Linked DNA regions of Homo sapiens: region 1 is linked to region 2. The links are contacts of gene promoters, found by promoter capture Hi-C in human tissues and cell types (Jung and others, 2019). All regions are on one chromosome and are shown on one strand. Each heading gives the region's core, a stretch centred on a gene start or on the middle of the fragment in contact. The rest is flanking DNA. Distances are from core to core; before and after follow the strand shown. Region 1 overlaps OLIG1 (oligodendrocyte transcription factor 1). Region 2 holds the start of IFNAR2 (interferon alpha and beta receptor subunit 2).

Region 1 (4,589 bases), core at 716-3,215, 160 kb after region 2:
AGGTGAGTTGGCTTTTCTTTTTTCTTTCTTTTTAACCTCACAGACAAGTCTTCTCATCTGCTCTTGTGATTTTGAAGTCTCCAGGTCCTATGACTTTGGCATTCTCTAAGGAGCTACCCACATCACTTAGAAGCTTCTGGGACACAACAGCCCTTATTGAATCCCAGTGCTGGGAGCCTGTTTCCTGGGCCCCATGGCTTGCCTTGGACTGGTGCTCCAGGTACAGGGCCTGTCAGGGGCGTCTGTCCTCTATTTCAGGCCACCACTGCAGAGGGGCCTGTTGGGGAATCACTCGTGTCCATGAAAAACACTCAACAAAAAGATGCCGACGACGTTGACACAGGTTCCAGCAGGGTCAGAATGTCTAGTTTCCACATGAAAACACTGTGAGGCAGCCAGGAGGAGAAAGTCTCTGAAGCTGTGCCTTCAGAAGCCGTTTTCTCCTTGCACCCTGCTGCCCTTGTCTGTCAGCCGTCTGCTTGCTCACTTTCAGAAACTCGAATGACAAACCTGCAACCGTCAGAGGATCTCTCACAGAGGTGGCCTTGCCTCTGCCACTCCCTGTCACCAGTCTGGGCCTCTCTTGGGGCTAGGGGGCGAGGCTGCCGAGAAAGTTCAGGTGACTCAACTGCAGTCAGGTCAGCCAGCAAGGGATTTGTCCTGAGCCTATCTCTCCTGGATGCCACCAGCAGGGCCAGCCTACAGGCTGAGCAGAGAGGCTGGAAGAGACCAGAGGACCGAGATTTTCCAGGGGAGGGCAGAAGAACATGCTCAGCTCTGGGTGGGGACCTCCTGTTGGGATTCCCATTCCTTGTCTCACCAGGACAGACCAAGGAAGCAGCCCGTGCTTCCCCAAAGCAGGCGCTAGTCCCTGGCATTACTGCCTCTGACCACCTGTGTGGCTTTGACTGTGGTTCCCGACCATCCTGGGCCTCGGTTGCCTTATTCAGTAGGGAGAAGAGAGAATGGATGATTTGCAACTGCCTTTGCCTGCCAGCATTCATGAGACTCAGATATGATTTGGTACCTGCGGCCTTTGTCCCAGGTAGTGGCCTACTTGCGTGCTCTGTCCTCGGTGGTCACCGCAGAAGGCTTAGCATGGACGTAGAATGCATTCTTTTTGCTTTCAATCAAGGCATTCCCCCCCCACCCCCACCCCCCCACACACACAAAAGCGTCATGCAGCCTGTAGTGTTTAAGGACTTGGAATATTCAGCTCCTTGTCCTGAGCTCAGAGCCTGGCCTGTCAACAGCAGCAGGAGGGAAGGGGGAGAGTTTGCGGAGAGCTCCTAATCCCGTGTGAGCAGAAAGAATGTGGTTTGGTTTCTTTTCAGGCATGTCAGCTTTTACGCTGGGCTTAGTTAAAAATGACAGAATGGGAACTGCCTTAAGAATGATTTTCCGATGTCTCCATAAATAACGAGACTAGTTTGTGTGCAGGTTTTGAGGAATATCTTGCTACTCCAGTTTTGCACGTTAACTGGATCTTACTTGGAAACAGTATTTCTAACGTCTTTCCCCACACCTAAAAATCTGCTGGAGAAAAGTGAATTCATGTTTTTGAAAAACATGGCATTTTTCACCCCATTGCTTTGTGAGCCTACTTCAGTGAATGTGGTAATCTTCTTATTGAATATTTATTGTGTGTGCAGAAGAGAAAAGAGGCAGTGAAGAAGCAGGAAAATACCTTCTGAGGGAAATATACTTTCCTAGTCAATGCACTGCATACCCAGGGAGCAAAAGTGTCAATTGAATGACTCTTCCCAACCATCACCTTGCTCTTGGCAAGTTCATCAGGTATCCTTCTATGGCAGAAAAGAAAAGCCCCTTTTTTTCCTGGCTGGCTTCCTAAACACAACAGGAGGCTCCAGGGGGTCTAGTTAGCAGGCTGAGGCTCTCTTGTACCCAGCCTCACCTGCGTACCTAAGCATTCAGGAAAGACCAAACACCTTAAAGTGGAGTGCAAGATGGAAGCATTGTCGTTCATCTTCTAAACTTCAGTAAGTGGAAACATTTTCCATGATTGGAGAGGAGCCTCTTCCTCGAAGCAGCCACTTACCCTCTAAGCTGTATATTTCACAAAGTTAAATTTTTATGTCTAGTGTCATCAGTTTCCCTTAGAGGAGAACATCTGTAAGTAGACCATCACTGCGGGCTAGGCAAATCCCATCGTGTATTGATTCTGCCCTCTGTCTACTGATTGCTCACCTGGACTCCAATATATATAACAATATAATTTCTCAGGGCCTTGTGTATTTTCCCATTAGGTTCAGTTTACTCTAATTGCCAGGACCTCACTTTGGTGGTTGGCTGGATGCAGGGAACTTTTTTGGCAGTGAGCCGTGGGTTCCTTCTCATCTTGCTTCTGAGCTCTTAGAGTGCCTTTCTTGAGGAACCTTACTAAGACCCTCCCAGCTGTCCCAAACCCTTCAAAGGCTAGCTTACACTTGTTCCTTCTGAACAAAGCCCACTCCAGCTAAAATCAAGTATGGTGGACAATTCAGCTAGCTCCTTTGCTGGCGTGACATAGCACTGAACATTTCTAAAAGCAGCTCCATGCTCTAGAACACACATGTCTAAGCTTAAACTCTGCATGCAGAATACACTGCCCTGCCATAGACAGATGTTGAGCAGTCTGACTTTGCATTGTGGACACTGTATATAATTACCTTTTATCTGTTTCATCCTACAGGACTCTTCAATGCTTGCTGGTACTATTTTTTAGGATGTAAACTCCTTCTATAGAGCAAGTCTGCTAATCTTGCTTGGCACAACGGCCAAAAGCACGCTACGTGCAGGCAGATAAGTATTTTGATGGCACCCAAAACAGCCCCGTGTGTCCTTGTTAAATTTATTTATAGCCTTTGGCCCTTCTGAAAAGCATGATAGGCTGTGATTTTCTTAGTTAAATAAAAAAAAAATCATACACATATAGTGTTACTTTTCCTATAAGGCATGGGCGGCTTGTTCCCATTTACAGGTAGAGAAGGGCAGACCCATTTTCTGCCCTGTAGCTTTGGGCTCCTTTTAGAGATGATGTCTGGAATGACAGTGGCATCTAGGTGCTGGTGTTGGACAGTGGGAGAAATTGTTTGTTTCTAATCCCTTAGAAGTATTTTTGTTTCAAGGAGAACCTAATTTGCTTTTGATTTCATTGATTTTCACTTTTTTCCCCTACCCCTTGCCAAGATATAAGGTAAGCAAGGAAAGGCATTGAATAAACAGAAGGCCAGAGTTCAAATCTACTTTTTATAAAAGTGGTGACTTTGCTGGTGGCAGAGTCTAGGAAGCATGAGAAATCCTCTTTTGGAATGAGTTGGTGCACAGAGCACCTTCTCCCATGCCCTGTCCTGACTTCTCCTTAAGGAAATAGACACAGCATGGTAGCCGGGCAATGCCATCTCTCCAGCCACCTCCCACCTCCTTCCCCCACCTCCAAAGTGGTGCTCATTTTCTCTAAATGTGTATATGCCTCAGATAAACCAACATGGATAAAATTGAGTAAGTCATCTCTGGGTTTTCTTTAATTTTCCTCAGGTTAAAGGGGACACTACTTCTCTACTACTCCCCTACATTAAACAGTGGTTGGGTTTCATTAATAATTATGCAGTGTTTCATTATTGCAATGTGAGCAGGTCAGCCTTCCAAATTCTTTTTAAGAGCACCAAACAGACAGAAGAGCTTTCTTCACCTCTTAGGTGAAGACAATTCCAACCTGATTTAAATGATAAGGGGTAGGTGGGTGCAGCAGCGGGAAGCTCATGCTTGTGTGGTATTAAGCTTCTGTCCAAGGATATAGAAAAGGTGGATATCCTGGAAGGATGTTGAGCTACAATTTTATGATAAAGGTATTGCTTAACCCATTTTCCAGGGGATGAAGTTGTAGTTAAAAAAGACCTATGCCTGAAGCTTGGCAAAGAATGAATTCCTGGAATTGCCTCTCTCCCTTCTCTATCCCATTCTCTATCCCACCCACCCACTTACCTATAATCCTCATATTTCCCACGAATGCCTGAACTTGAACTACAGTTGCCTGTTCATTGGATTATTTTACAAATCAGGAAGTCACATTTTAAAACCTGGGACCCCGGTCATTTACCTACCTTCACCCCAAGGTTCTAAATCCACTAGGATACAAGGACTTTTTTATTACCAAACAAATCAGACAAAAAATGTAAAAAATCAGACTTTAAATGTTTTATTTTGTTGATTCTGTACACCGTCAGGAAACAAGGTTAGAAGTAAAATAAAGTGCCAGTTAAATTCGGCTACTACCAACAACCAAAACCTTAAACATAGAAAATCAAAGTAAACTGCGGAAAGGTCATAGCATAACCTTGGGTAAAGGAATTTGTTAACGTCTGTAACAAATCGAAACTGACTACGTATGTAGCTCTTCAACTGCAAGACGGCGAGAAGGAAGACCTGCGGGCCGCGCTGGTCAAGGGCCCGGCCCGCTGAGGAACAGCGGAAAGCGCCTTCCCGCCGTCGCCACCGCAGCTGGGATCCGCCGAGCAGCGGGCGGTTCAGGGCTCCCGGTACTCCTGCGTGTTAATGAGAACGTTCATTAGCGCTCTTGACAGGACGGC
Region 2 (4,861 bases), core at 1,424-3,923:
AAATCTCACTATAGTTTCTGGTGGTTGAGACACATTTAAATTTTAAATTTTTTTTTAAACTTGAGAATTAAAAACAAACAAATGAAAACCAATGACAATGCTGATGGATATCTCCACGTACCAGATGATAAAACCCTGGCTTGTGGGGTAACTCGTTTTCCTGTTAGGGCCAGAGAAAATTTTCAGTGGCTCTGAACTCCTCCCCATCATACATACCTCTCTTTTTCCCTCCTTTGTTTTGTCTTTTCCATACCTCTAAGTCAGCCAACCTCCTCTGCCAATTACCTGTTTTTCCTTTATTCTTCCCTGAATTGCATAGCCCCCAGTTTCATTCTTCCAAAGGAAGAAGAAGGACCCTCAGGGCCAGTGCCGTCAAGCTCTGCTCTAACTCACTAATATTTCACAAATTATAAAATGCCCATTTTCTTTTAACATTTGAGAATTTCTGAAATCAGAATGCTTTCATTCTGGTGGCATGGCATAGCATGATTGACAGTGTTTTTTCTTACTTCATTACATAAAATGAAAGTGCATCTTATAAGCAATGGCATTTTAGTTTGGGTTTTAGCTTTGATAAAACATGATGATTGAGCCTGTAATACTAGCACTTTGGGAGTCCAAAGCAGGTGGATCATTTGAGGTCAGAAGTTCCAGACCAGGCTGGGTAACATAGTGGAAATCCCATCTCTACTAAAAATACAATTAGCCAGGCGTAGTAGCACACGCCTGTAATCTCAGCTACTCAAGAGGCTGAGGCAGAAGAATCGCTTGAACCCAGGAGGGGGAGGTTGCAGTGAGCCAAGACAGTGCCACTGCACTCCAGCCTGCGCGACAGAGCGAGACTTTGTCAAAAACCAAACCAAACCAAACCAAACCAAACAAAACAAAACATGATGATTGATAACGGAAGATGATACATACCATTGACTCTTGAACAGTTTGAAGGTTTATAAAGGTAGCAGAAAAAATGAGTCCAATGTGGCTTTGAGTGTGCAAGTGTGAGCCATGGAATATATATTTTAATAAATGTTTCACGTCTATGACAGTACCTCTAGGGTTATGATCCTTTTCATACTACTTTTTGAAATGACTTTTAGACAAATCACCATTGTCAAATTATGTGAACCAAAATCAGATTTTCTTTAACTTTTCAATAAATACATGAGAAACTTTAGAGGAAATAATAGGTAAGAAAAATGAGTCATGTACATTTTTGATTATCTAAAATTGTGGAAAACAACTTTATGAACAATAGAACTTACAAGTTCAAGTCATTTTCTGCGACAAACAGATCAAGCCTTATCAGCTATGCCCTAATTGCTAGGAGTGTTTATCGAATATTTTCCTTAGGGTAGATTTTGATAGAGTATCTGCTACCCCCTCACCCCCTCAAGCCTGCACAGGTGGATAGGGGGTGGGTGGACAGGATACTGAGAAACCTTGGCAAGCAGTGGGACTTAGCCCCTGGGCCAGTGAGCACACATGGGAAACTCCACCTCTCCCTGAGCCAGCTCCGGCACTTCTCACCACTGAATCAACGCCCAAGCATGCTATATTCGTTTCTAAGACTTCTTGCTAAACAAAACAAGGAAATAAAAAAAAAAATGTTAAAAGAAAGGAGGTGGGAATACTCAGAGTCAATATAACCATCGCTAACCAAATAAACGGGCTGATGGAGTCAACTCGCTACTGCGTGTAACGGATTGATTTGCTCAGGGTTGAAATGCAAGTGCCGATCGCCTCTCCATATTCGCGGAGTATCTTCCCAGTATCTCCCCTCTCCGACCCTGGGAGGGTGCACCCTTCTGTCTCCGCGGCCACGTCCCCTCGCCCCTTCCCCCTCCTGCCTCCACGCAGCGGATCCGGAGGGGTGTAGGCCGCTCCAGCCCCGGCTGCAGTCTGTGACCCTGACGCAGGTCGAGGGGGGCTAATCCCAGGGGACCTCAAGGGGGCGGGCTGGAGATCCCGAACCTGAGCACCCAGCTGGTGAGCCGGTTTTGCAAGGCGGGGTGGACCTGGAGGAATGTGACCCTCAAACTTAGCAACGACTCACATCTTGCAGTGGCAAATGCCCGGTATCCTGGGCATCCTTGGTGGGGTGGGGTGGGACGCGGAGGGGTGCAACGAAAGCGGACTCCCAGCAGGGGCGACGCGTGGAGGGCGCAGGACAGGGCCCGGGAGGGGTCCTGGGGTCGCAGGTGCGGCCCCGGGAGAGAGGAAGGGCGCACTAGCCGCATACTCAAGACGCAGAGGGAGGGCAGGAGGAGGAGGAGGAGTCGGGGAGAGCGAGAGGGAACCGGAGGGGATTCCGGGAACCGCTGCAGGGAGGCGGCGTTTTCCCTCCAGTCAGCTGGCCACGCGCTCCGCTCCCGCGACCCCGCCACGCTGCGTTACCTTTGCAGCTCTCGCCTTGCGGCTCCCGAGAGATGCTAGCCTCGGGCCCCAGCCGCGCCCGGCTCTGGGACCCGACGCTCGCGGTCAGGATGCGCCTCGCGGGCGGCCTCTCGGACAGAAGCGGCGGGCGGGGGACAAAAGCGGCCCGTGCGGCCGGGTGGTGGTCCGCGGGCTGCGCTCGGGGAACTGTTCGGCTCGCCGGCGGGATTCCTACCCGCCGGGAAGAAGCGTCTTTAGTGCGGGTGCGCGCGCCGAGCCCCGGCCTACGAGGAGCGATACGGAAGCGCGGGCGCCGCGCCGCCGCCGGCGCGGGGGCGGGGGCGGAGCCAGGGGCGGGGCCGGAGCCAGGGGCGGGTCCTGGGCCGCTGGCGGGGCTGGAGCAGGGCCGGAGGCGGAGGCCGGGCCGGGGGCTGGGCAGGAGAATAGAAAAAAGGTCCGGTCATTTACAATCGTCTGCTGCCGATTGTCAGCTCCTAACCAATCCCGCCTTCGCCGAGAAAGCTCCATAGGGGAAGAATTTGGGACTGTTTTGTTTACTGAAGTATCCTTAGGGGTTAGAATAGTGCCTGGCATTTAGAAGACACCCAAAGATGTGTTGACTGACTGAATGAATGAATGAACTAAAGAGTGAATGGGTTCTCTCCTGGCTCCCCCACTTGTTAATTGTATAAACCTGCATGATATAATTCTCCAACTAGTAAAACGAGGATAAAAATACCTACCATTGAGTAAATGTTGTAAATATCTACAACATTATCCGTTGTAGATTCTCCCCTCTTCTCCGCGGGTCTCTTCTCCATACTCCTACCCTTCCCTCGACCCCCCACTGATCAACGTGTTTCGGGATAGGCAGAAAGACAGATGTTCTTCATTAATTTGTCTGCTTGTTATTTATAGCCTGTCAACTTCTAAAATAGACTATGAGGCCGGGAGCGGTGGCTCACACCTGTTATCTCAGCACTTTGGGAGGCCAAGGCAGATGGACCATCTGAGGTCAGGACTTCAAGACCCAGCCTGACCAACATGGTGAAACCCTGTCTGTACTAAAAATACAAAAATTAGCTGGGCGTGGTGGCGGGCGCCTGTAATCCCAGTTACTTGGGAGCCTGAGGCAGGAGAATTGCTTGAACCTGGGAGGTGGAGGTTGCAGTGAGTTGAGATTGCACCATTGCACTCCAGCCTGGGAGACAAGAGCGAAACTCTGTCTCAAGAAAAACGAAAAAAAAAAGAAAATCCAAAACCAAAATAGACTATGAGGCAGCTTTCAAGTAAAATGTATGTATATTCTAAACATTACAGCTACTAAAATGGAAATGTTAATATCTTTTTGAAGGAGAGGGAAAAGATACACTAACCACCTAAATTGTTTTAACTGAGTATTTAATCTCTCGTTCAGCTTTCTGGCCTCCTAGGAAAGGGAGGAGGAGGATGTTTCATACTTTTTGTAGATGGGAAAAATGAGCCTTTTAATCTATGAAGTCAACCAACATTTGCTGATACTCCTTTAAGGCTAGGCACAAGGGTGATCATAAAGAGGATGTCACGGTCCTGCCTCTTATGTGACCCTTGGCAGAATTCCCACCAGCCCCATACGATCTGAAGGGAACTTATCTAGGATCCTATTTCTTATAAAAGACATTCAACATTGAAAATATTTTCAGCCACAGTTTTAGAGAATTTGCAGAAATAGCCTCTGAAAATGGGAGAAATCCAATACCAAACTCCATGTGCTGCATGCACTCTTTTATATAAACATATATATTAAAAATAAAACTATGTCAAAACCTTAACTATGACTTATTGCAGATTGGATGATAGTAGGTGATTTTTATTTTGTTTCCTTTCCAAACATTCTACAGTAAACATCCTTACTTATATAATTAGGAAAAAGATTTTTTAAAAAACAAATGCAGTCCTGGCTAACACGGTGAAACCCCGTCTCTACTAAAAATACCAAAAAAAAAAAAAAAAAAAAAAAAAAATTAGCCAGGTGTGGTGGCGGGCGCCTGTAGCCCCAGCTACTCAGGAGGCTGAGGCGAGAGAATGGCGTTAACCCAGGAGGTGGAGCTTGCCGTGAGCCAAGATTGCGCTACCGCACTCCAGCCTGGGCGACAGAGCGAGACTCCGTCTCAAAACAAGCAAACAAACAAAAAACAAAACAAAACAAAAGCAAATGCAGTCTATGCCAAGGTGTGAAGAGCTTGAAAGCTGTCACTCCACTCCCCACAACAAGAGAAAAGCTGAACAAATTGAAGATTAACAACTCTTCTTGTTTCAGTATCAGTGAATTGAGTCACAGGGCAAACTGCAAAAACTGAAAGACAGACAAATGCAAAGAATCACAGTTTACAGGGACCAGAAGCCTCTGAAATCATAGCAAAACTTAAATTGTAATTGACTAATTGCTGGAGACTGAGTGTGGACTAGCTTGAGAATTAAACACTGTTGGGTACTCAGTCTTAGAGGG

The links. The method cuts DNA at HindIII sites, captures the fragments that hold promoters and counts their contacts. A contact is called where the count stands out against the background at its distance.
Region 1: a fragment that was not itself captured here is called in contact with the fragment with the promoter of IFNAR2 in region 2 in 1 of the 25 tissues and cell types used here (H1 embryonic stem cells).

What each region holds. Positions count from the first base shown.
Region 1 is chr21:33,072,007-33,076,595 of GRCh38, reverse strand. OLIG1 (oligodendrocyte transcription factor 1) reads right to left here. Exons shown (of 1, transcript NM_138983.3): 1 at 4,183-4,589. Among named protein-coding and RNA genes, the nearest start is that of OLIG1, 4.2 kb to the right of the region's middle. The HindIII fragment of the contact is 4,648 bases long and covers 1-4,289 here.
Region 2 is chr21:33,227,750-33,232,610 of GRCh38, reverse strand. It overlaps IFNAR2 (interferon alpha and beta receptor subunit 2), which reads right to left and starts at 2,673. Exons shown (of 9, transcript NM_001289125.3): 1 at 2,395-2,673. IFNAR2-IL10RB (IFNAR2-IL10RB readthrough) reads right to left here and starts at 2,673. Exons shown (of 13, transcript NM_001414505.1): 1 at 2,395-2,673. RefSeq lists silencers at 795-984, 2,207-2,256, 2,277-2,336, 2,397-2,856. The HindIII fragment of the contact is 14,450 bases long and covers 1-4,861 here.